Regions from separate parts of the Homo sapiens genome. Here all the other regions are linked to region 3. Evidence: promoter capture Hi-C in 16 types of primary human blood cells and fetal thymus (Javierre and others, 2016). All regions are on one chromosome and are shown on one strand. Each heading gives the region's core, a stretch centred on a gene start or on the middle of the fragment in contact. The rest is flanking DNA. Distances are from core to core; before and after follow the strand shown. Region 1 has its middle 14 kb from the start of ATG16L1. Region 2 overlaps ATG16L1 (autophagy related 16 like 1). Region 3 holds the start of NGEF (neuronal guanine nucleotide exchange factor).

What was found. The method cuts DNA at HindIII sites, captures the fragments that hold promoters and counts their contacts. A CHiCAGO score of 5 or more calls a contact.
Region 1: a fragment that was not itself captured here is called in contact with the fragment with the promoter of NGEF in region 3 in 1 of 17 cell types (endothelial precursors); the score reaches 6.3 in endothelial precursors.
Region 2: a contact is called between a fragment that was not itself captured here and the fragment with the promoter of NGEF in region 3, in 1 of 17 cell types (endothelial precursors). The highest score is 5.6, in endothelial precursors.

What each region holds. Positions count from the first base shown.
Region 1 is chr2:233,236,089-233,239,238 of GRCh38, reverse strand. No RefSeq gene overlaps it. Among named protein-coding and RNA genes, the nearest start is that of ATG16L1, 14 kb to the left of the region's middle. The HindIII fragment of the contact is 1,046 bases long and covers 1,059-2,104 here.
Region 2 is chr2:233,260,845-233,263,955 of GRCh38, reverse strand. It overlaps ATG16L1 (autophagy related 16 like 1), which reads right to left. Exons shown (of 18, transcript NM_030803.7): 3 at 721-826. Among named protein-coding and RNA genes, the nearest start is that of ATG16L1, 11 kb to the right of the region's middle. RefSeq lists enhancers at 1,772-1,841, 2,142-2,231. The HindIII fragment of the contact is 1,847 bases long and covers 396-2,242 here.
Region 3 is chr2:233,011,865-233,014,931 of GRCh38, reverse strand. It overlaps NGEF (neuronal guanine nucleotide exchange factor), which reads left to right and starts at 1,676. Exons shown (of 15, transcript NM_019850.3): 1 at 1,676-1,864. It overlaps LOC101928881 (a long non-coding RNA gene), which reads right to left and starts at 2,318. Exons shown (of 3, transcript NR_136325.1): 1 at 1,963-2,318; 2 at 1,685-1,792. The HindIII fragment of the contact is 3,625 bases long and covers 1-1,694 here.

The sequences.
Region 1 (3,150 bases), core at 332-2,831, 220 kb before region 3:
TGGTTCGTGATGCAGCAATAGATAACCAGAATAATATCTAAAGGAAACTGGGTCTCTCTCAGGAAGGAAGAAGCAGGAAATGGCTGCTGGGTAGGCTATCAATGGTGTGTCCCCTTTACCCTGTTGGGAGTGTGCACAGAACACCACGTTATCCTCAGAAGACATCTGATGAGCGTAGAGCCAAAGCAAGGCAAATGTCTGCAGGTGGGATCACTTTACATTGTCACAGTGGGATCCATTTTCCCCACCATATGAAGGAAACTAGTTATTGTCAGAAGAGACCATTGGGATGAAAAGTGTGTATCTTCGAAACCACTAAAGAAAAACTCACACTTTGGGAGGCCGAGGCGGGTGGATCATGAGGTCAGGAGATCAAGACCATCCTGGCTAACAAGGTGAAACCCTGTCTCTACTAAAAATACAAAAAATTAGCCGGGCGCGGTGGCGGGCGCCTGTAGTCCCAGCTACTCGGGAGGCTGAGGCAGGAGAATGGCGTGAACCCGGGAAGCGAAGCTTGCAGTGAGCCGAGATTGCACCACTGCAGTCCGCAGTCCGGCCTGGGCGACAGAGCGAGACTCCGTCTCAAAAAAAAAAAAAAGAAAAAAAGAAAGAAAAACTCAGTCTGTACCTTCTATAATAATAATTAGTAATGCCAGTAACAGCAGGTAACATTTATTGAATGTATACAGTGTGTGAGGCTAAATGCTTTACAATTGTTCTCTTCTCAGTTTTCACAACAGCATAGTCGTGTTGGTGCTATTGCTGGCTCTACTTCACAAAGACAATGTAGCCTGGGTTCTGGGTTCAAATTCTGATGCTAGCACTTATCACCTCTGATATCTTAGGCAAGTTGCTTAAACTCTGTGCCCCAGGATTAAATGAATTAATACTGACAACGGTGTCTTGCACACAGTAAGTGCTTTATAGGTATGGCCATTATTATTATTTCAGAGGAAGAAAGTGAGGCTCAGGGAGACAGGTAACTTGTCCAGGTGCACATGATGGGTAAGAGGTAGGCAGATTCCAACCCAGCCTGTGGACTCCATAGCCTGCAAGCTTACCAATCTGTGCCTTCCTTCTCCTGCCTCATAAAAAAGAGCCTGTGTGTTGACCTTGAACTTGTATCTCTCAGATCTCCTGCTGGGGGAAATACAATCACCTGACAGCCCTTGATGCTGTGCTCTAAATCCACCACCACATTCAAGCTGTGTCCACATTTCTTACCACTGCTCCCAACCAATGACGAAGCACAGCAGGGCTGCTAAGGCAGAATGACTCCTGTGACACGTGGGACTCCTCTGATGAACTTTGCCTCAAGGATGCTGCTATGGACCGAATGTTTGTGCCCCTGCCCCAAATTCATATCTTGAAGCCATAATCCCCAGTGTGATGGTATTTGGAAGTGGGACCTTTGGGAGGTGCTTAGGTCACAAGGGAAGAGCCCCCATGAATGGGATCAGCACCCATTCATGAGGTGAGGACCTTATAAAAGAGGCCCCAGAGAGCTGCCTTGCTCCTCCTACCATGTGAGGACACAGTGAGAAGTCTACTATCTGCAAACCAGGAAGAAGGTTCTCACCAGATACTGGATCTGCCAGCACCTTGACCTTGGACTTCCCAGGCTCCAGAACTGTGGAAAATACATTTCTGTTGTTTATAAGCCACCCAGTATATGGTATCTTATTATAGTAGACTGAACTGACTTAGACAGATGTCTATCAACCCTGCCCAAACTTTGTTAGAATGTGCGGCAGGCTGAGAGTCTTCCTACCTCACCTTCCTTCCCTCTCTCCTTCACCAGGGTCAGACCTGCATCATGGCCTGACAGCTCTCCCAGCCTCCTCCTGTAATCTCCCCATCTTCCTGCACAGACACTTCCTTCAATAAATCTCTCATGTCTAACCCTGCCCTAGAACGTACTTCTCTGAGAACCAGAGAGGTTTGGATGAAACCCAAGTAATAGAAGAAAGTGGGAATGAAAGGAGCTGCCACCAACACTGCTGTTGATGTTTTGGAGGTCCTGACCCTTGCCAAGTCCACTTGTCTTTCTCTCTAATCAAGTCATGTGCCTGGGTGGCTGTGTTTCTATCCCATGACTGAAGCTTTCCGGCCAAGAACTTTTTGGACCAGCCGTGGACACCTAACTGGGCCTAAATCCTCTCTTAAGGGAGAGTGAGGAGCCGGGCCTCTGGGTCTGGAGCAGTCAAGGGCTGAGTCAGCACCATGGCAAGACAAAGCCAAGGAGAACCAGGAATAGGCAGAGGACGCTGGGCAGAGAAAGAAACAGGTGAGCAGAAGGAAACGTCCAGAGAGGACCAGGGCCCAGAGAAGAGCCACCCTCTGCCTGACAACCTTGTTCCCAGCTCCATGTGGCTGAGGCCTGGCTAGCTAGACTCTTCATCAGTGCTCCTTTTTTTTTTTTTTTTTTTTTTTTTTTGAGGCAGAGTCTTGCTCTGTCGCCCAGGCTGGAATGCAATGGCACGATCTTGGCTCACCACAACCTCCGCCTTCCAGGGTCAAGTGATTCTCCTGCCTCGGCCTCCCGAGTAGCTGGGATTACAGGCATGTGCCACCACACCTGGCTAATTTTTATATTTTTAGTAGAGACAGGGTTTCACCATGTTGGCCAGGCTGGTCTCAAACTCCTGACCTCAAGTGATTCACCCGCCTCAGCCTCTCAAAATGCTGGGATTACAGCGTGAGCCACTCTGCCTGGCTGAGCTCTCCTTAGGGTTAGGTTACTCTGTCTCTGCTTGGAGCTAGTTTCTCTTCCCCATAAGCAGAAAGCCTTGACTGAAATGGAAATTTAGAATTTTAGAGCAGGAAGACCCCTTAGACATCATTTTATGGCAAAGACGCAAAAGCAGGACATTTCCACCCTCTCCTGCTGCCTTTACCAAGATCTGAGGACGGGAACTCCTGTGTGTCCTGGGAAGAGGCCCGAGAGCTGCTCCCCGAGTCCTAGGTGGGAGCGGGAGAAGGGCCCCTAGCAGGAGGAGGGCGGCCTTGCAGAGCCCTTCTCGGGTCCTGGTGGATGACACTGCAGTGTGAGGGATCCGCCCACCCTCTCTGCCACCCCTGGCGGTGGCCTCTCATGCCACAGCTGGGAGGGCAGGTCTCCTGCATCCAGGCCTAGGATGGAATCTTCTC
Region 2 (3,111 bases), core at 70-2,569, 250 kb before region 3:
TTTTAGGACCTCATTTGGAAACTACACAGTGGGTGGCGATTTATTTTTAAGAAAGAATAAATGAGCTGGGTGACAGCAAGGAGCCGAGGCGCCTATGGGGACACAAAGGGGAACTATCCCTGCCACTCCCTGTTGAAGGACAGCTTGGCTGGAATGAGAAGTGTTCCAGGTGACTGCCAGGGGCTTGCTGAGGACAGCTGTCTACTCCTCAACTTCAGCTACCTTTTTGGAGACTCATTTCTGCTGAAAAGATAATCAATTCAGCTGTACTGATGGTGAACTGTATTTTCCCAACTGGAGCTTTGCCGTAAGACCACCATCCAGGCGAACACAGCCTAGGACTTGATTCTTTCTCACGAATGTCTCTGAAATTTCAGGGTTTGTACTGAAAAGCTTTATGAAACCATCAGTGAGGCCTTCAGCGCACCAGGTAGCAGGCTTTTTTGTTCTTTAAAGCCTCTCCACTCTTGCCTCTCATGCTGATTTTGGAGCATGGTAACTGGCAGCGCTCTCACAGGATTGCCCTTCTGGTGATGGGCCTCAATCTGCCTGGTCTTTTCATTCTGTTTTCCTCACCCTTTTATTCCTATGGAGGGGACTTTTGATGCCACATATGGCTAAGGCTGCTGCCAATTCTGGTGAGAAGTGACTGAGCTCCCCCGCTCCCCACAGGACTCTCATAGAGGGCAGAAGACAGATGAGGAAAAGGGCTAGCTTTACCTCCCCACGTTTCTTGTGTAATTCAGTCAGTTCCTCTTGGTGCTTAATCCTCAGTTGGGCCATTTCTTGTAGCTGATTGTCATTCCATGTGCCATCATGTCCGGGACTAAATTGGCAAACCAGGCAGATGAAGAGAATGTGCAAAAAACGGAGGGGGAAAAATGAGACTCCAAACCTTTCCAATTAGGCAATGAAACCATAACTCCAGAAACATGTTCACAAAGCCAATAAACCATTCGGGTGTCTCCAGCAGCTGCGGTTACAGGCACTATGAGTGGAAAGGAGGAGACATGAAACACATGGAAAAAAGCAAAGCAACTGTGACCATCAGGCACATCAGGAATAAAGGGTGGAAAGTTCCTGAATGAAGTCCCAGTAACAGGCACCAACAGGGCCCACTGGCTCAGCAAGGACCTGAGTGCCGATGACGCAGCAGTGAGTGCAGGGCTCTGCTTCCACACAGCTGACAGTCAACTGAGAGCACGTGTGAGGTCAGCAGTCACATGTGCTTGCAGAAAACTCAAGCACAAGAAGGGGAACAGAGGGAGGGGGTCCTATTTTAACGTAATTGAGGAGGGTTTCTCCTACGTGACACATGACTAGAGACTGTAAGGAAGTGAGGAATAAGCCATGTGGACCCTTGAGGGAAGGGCCCTCTGGGCAGAAGGAGCAGCAGCAGCAGAGCCTGGAGAGGTGTACAGCAGGTGGTGTATTTGGAGGAAGGGTGACTGAAGCCCAGGCACAGGGGGACAGAGGAGGTGCGGTCAAGGACGAGGTGGGGAAATGATGCAGAGCCTTGTGGGCACCTCCGAGGGCTGTGAGGTTTACTAGGCGTGAAGGGAAGCTGCTGGAGGGCTCTGAGCAGCTGAATGACTTAGGTTTTAAAAGGAGAGCAGATTGCAGTGGGGTAAGGGCCGAAACAGGAAGACCAGCCAGCAGGCTACTGTGAAGTGCAAACATGGGACAGTGCGGCTCAGACCAGGGTGGGAGCAGTGAGGTGAGATACGGTCTGATTCTAGATCCATTCCAAAGACAGCGCTAACAGGACTTGACTTTGAATTGGCTATGGGGCATGAAGACAGATAGGAGTCAAGGATGAATCAAGGCTTTTGGCCTGAGCAACTGGTAGAAGGTAGGTGTCACCCACTGAAATGGGCAAGACTGTGGGAGGAGCAGGTTTTGGAGGAGACCTAAAGAGTTCGTTTGTGGCCATTCAAGTGAAAACTGAGTACTGTCAAATGGAAACTGAGTATTAAGAGTCTGAACCTCAAGAAGAAGTCCAAGCTGGAGGCTAACATGTAGACACTGTCAGCAAACAGATGTGCCTAAAGCCACAGGAGTGAGTTCAGATCACCTCCAGAGTCAATGCAGTTTTGGAATCTTTGCCAAGTGTTTGCATAATATCTCAGATACAGCAGAAGACAACTAGAACTGTGGATTTATAGTTCGAGAGAAAGCTGGTGTCACAGGTGAGAATTATCAGACTATAGTGAGCAGCTGAAACCACTGTCTAGGGAAAGCTTGTAGATGGAGAAAAGGAACAAGGCTGGACACTTGTTCCTCTCATCCAACATCCGATGAGAGCGGAAAGAACTGCCCCCTCCATATGACCCAGAATAAAATAAAAAGAGGGGGATAAAGGTGGTAGTATAGCAGTCCTTCCATCTCTATATGTATTGTTATTACATAGCTAAGCACAAACTAATACCTTATCTTGAGGCAACCTGGCACTTCCCCAATCTTAACCCAAGAAGTAATGCCAAGAGATTAGACAGTGGAACACACTTTACATGAAACCATCCTAAATCAGGCAGAATAATTATCAAATCTCCCCCACCTTTTAAAAAATTATTGAGATGGTATCTCACTATGTTGCCCTGGCTGGCCTCGAACTCCTGGACTCAAGCATGTAAGATGTGGACCCACCTTCCAAGGAGCTGGCTAGCTATAGAACAGATTCATGAAATAAAAACTAACAACAGGCCGGGAGCGGTGGCTCAAGCCTGTAACCCCAGCACTTTGGGAGGCCGAGGCGGGCGGATCACGAGGTCAGGAGATCGAGATCATCCTGGCTAACACGGTGAAATCCCGTCTCTACTAAAAATACAAAAAATTAGCTGGGCGTGGTGGCGGGCACCTGTAGTCCCAGCTATTCGGGAGGCTGAGGCAGGAGAATGGCATGAACCCGGAAGGCGGAGGTTGCAGTGAGCTGAGACTGCGCCACTGCCCTCCAGCCTGGGCGACAGAGCAACAAAAAAACAAAGCAAAACAAAACAAAAACTAACAACACAAAGAAAAACAAAAGTGTATCAAAGAGTGACGATGGAAAGTGTTAATCATGTTCAGAGGCAAAGATTTCCCCAGACAAGGATGGTTTCATTTTGGGAGGGG
Region 3 (3,067 bases), core at 427-2,926:
ATGAGTAGATGGTTGGGTGGATGGATGGATGGATGGATGGATGGATGGATGGATGGATGGATGGTTGGATGGATAGATGGTGGGTGGATGGATGGATGGAAGGGTGGGTGGATGGATGGGTGGGTGGATGGAAGTGTGGATGGGTGGATGGATGGGTGGATGGGTGGATAATGGATGGATGGATGGGTGGATGGATGGGTGGATGGGTGGATGATGGATGGATGGGTGGATGGATGGTGGATGGATGGATGGACGGATGGATGGGTGGATGGGTGGATGGATGGGTGGATGGGTGGATGGATGGGTGAGAGAATAGATGAGAGACTACTTCAATCTGGCTTTCAGGGACAAAACTGAAACCCATGTTTTGTGGCAATCAGATGGCTGTGGGAACTTTCAAAGATGGCCCTCAGGGACCCCCACCCCTGGTATTGTGCCCTGTGTAATCCCCTACCTTTGAGTGTAGGCTGTGCCTGATGACTTCCTTCTAACGAGTAGAATATGCCAGAAGTGATGGAATATCACATCCTTGAGTATATTACAAAAGACTGACCTACCTCTTCCCAGACTCTCTCCATAGCCCTCTCTGATGCAACGAGCTGCCAGGGCGGAGAGGCCCACATGGCAAAGGACTGATAGTGGCCACAGCTGACAGCTGAGAGGGGCTGAGGCCTTCATCCTACAGCCCTAAGAAACTGAATCCTGCCAACACCAGCAGCTTGGAAGTGGATCCCCCCTAGTGGAGCCATGAGATGAGACCTCAGCCCCTCCAACACTTGGATGGCAACTTATGAGAAACCCTGAGCAGAGAACCCAGCCAAGCAGTGCCCAGACTTCTAGCCACAGAAACTGAGATGACAAATGAGTGTTATTTCAAGCCACACACTTTGAGTTAATTTGTTTCCAGAACAGATAGCTAAAACAAACGCTGATTTGAGTTTTATATAAAGATGGATGATGTAGCAATTAAACTTGGCAAATGATGGTAGTGGTTTTGATACTAGTTGGCTTGGGTTTGAATCCTGGATCCCCAACTTACTAGCTGTGGGGCTTTGAGCAAGATGATCAATTTCTTGAGCCTCTGTTTCTGCATCTTTAAAATGGGCATGATTCTCTGGTCATAGTGACAACACAAGGATTACATAGATTATGTAATGTACTTAGCCCAGTGCCTGTCATGTAGTAAGCACTGGATTAAAGGAAGCTATTAGAGGGAATAATAATAATAATAATAATAATAATAATAATAATAATAATGGAGCAAGATGCCTTACAAAGCAGTGAGTGTTCCATGCCTGGAAGTGATTGAGTTAAGGCCAGATGGCCATGGCAGGAAGTGACTAGAACCCTGGAGGACCCCAAAGCCTCTCCCAAATCTCAGATTTGAGGGCCGTGCAGCTGGCTTGGCCAATGCTTGGGGTTGGTGGGCCAGCTGAGCCACGGGCCCCTCTTGGTGTGACCATCAGCATTATCTTGCACTGGGCGGGCGGCGGGTATTCCAGCCATGCCCAGCCTTCCCCTCAGATAGCCCTTCCCTCCTGCACCACTTTTGTGTCAGGTATGTGGCTGCCACCCTGGCTCAACCCATGGGGCCCAGGAAGGTAAACACCCAGCCGGGAAGTGATCGTTATGGGCTCGTGGCCAGCTATGGGCCAAGGCAGGTCTAAAGGTCGGGAATGCTTACCAGTGAAGCTTTTCCAGGACAGGACGAAGTTTTTGGCTGTGGGCTCTCTGGGACAGAGTGGAGCGCCTGTGGATTTAGCCGGGGACACACCATCCTGCTCGCAGGTGCCTGGACAGGACAGGGGACGAGGGAGGAACACTCTCTGAGGAAGCCCAACTCCTATGAGCTCCTCTCTGGCAGGTGAGAGAATGGTTTTGGTATTTTTTAAAAAAATAAAATGAGATAAAACAAGAGAAGGAACAGAGGCTACCGCTAGGACAGGTAGGAAAGGAGATTACCACCCATCCATTCACTGAGGAGGAGCCCCCAAGAGAAACAGCAGCCCTGGATTCCACCCGAGGGATCCTGTCTGGTCTCGGCTTCAGCACTGCCCCTCCTGGCACTCAGTTTCACCATCTGGGAATCAGGATAAGGACTCCTTCCAGGCGCTCTTCCATTATGGCTGTGGGGTAAGTGAGATCAAAAGCAGGAATGGCTGCATAATTGCAGGGCCCTGTGCAATATAAAAATGCAGGGCCCCTTGTTAAAATAGTAAGGCTTTCAAAAGGACAACAACACAGCATTAAAGCAAGCCGGGGCACCTTCTAAGAACAGGGCCCTGTGACTGCCCAGGCCCCACACCCACGACGCCAGTCCTGATAATGAGCGTATATGTAAACGGAAGTGCCCTGATTCCTGTGTGCCATGGCACAAATCTCAGGGTCAGGAAGTGCACTTGGGAAACAGAAGTCATAGTCGTGAAGTGACAGCCCACTGCGCTTTAGCTCCCCCAGCACTGCCCCCTCCGCTCAGGGGCCCCTTTCAGAAAGACAGAAGGCCCTACCCCTCAGAACCTTCCTGATTTTTGCATCTGGCTGGCCTCAAGCCACAGCACGGTGTGACTGAAATGTGTAGGGACACAGTTTTCTTGGATGTGAAAGTGGTAGGTTCTTATTGTCTATCTTGATTTAAAATTTGGGACAGTCACACAGTCTCTGGCTGTGTAGAGGTGGGACTTGTGTTTCCTGGGCTCGTGACAGCTCTGCTATGTTCCATTGACTATCAGTGTATTTCTGCTTTTTGGGAAAATCCTTAATGCAATAAGGCCACTGGTGGGAATGTTCCAGCTTGGACACTTGCCATGTGTCTTTGTCCTCCCTGCCCCTTCTCTCTTTCTCTCTCTCTCTCTCTCTTTTTCCATTTAGGCTTCCCCTTTGCCCATGTCTCAGGCTGCCCCTTGGCACTGCTTAGCTCTGAGGAAGTAGAAGCCAGGGTCCCCTTGGGGGTCAAGCTTTCTGGTCCATGAAGGGAGACCACAGACCACCTCCCTCCACCGCACTCTCCTCCCACATCCCTTTCTGGAGCCCAAATTGTCATGGGAACCCCTCCCAGGGAGGGGATCCC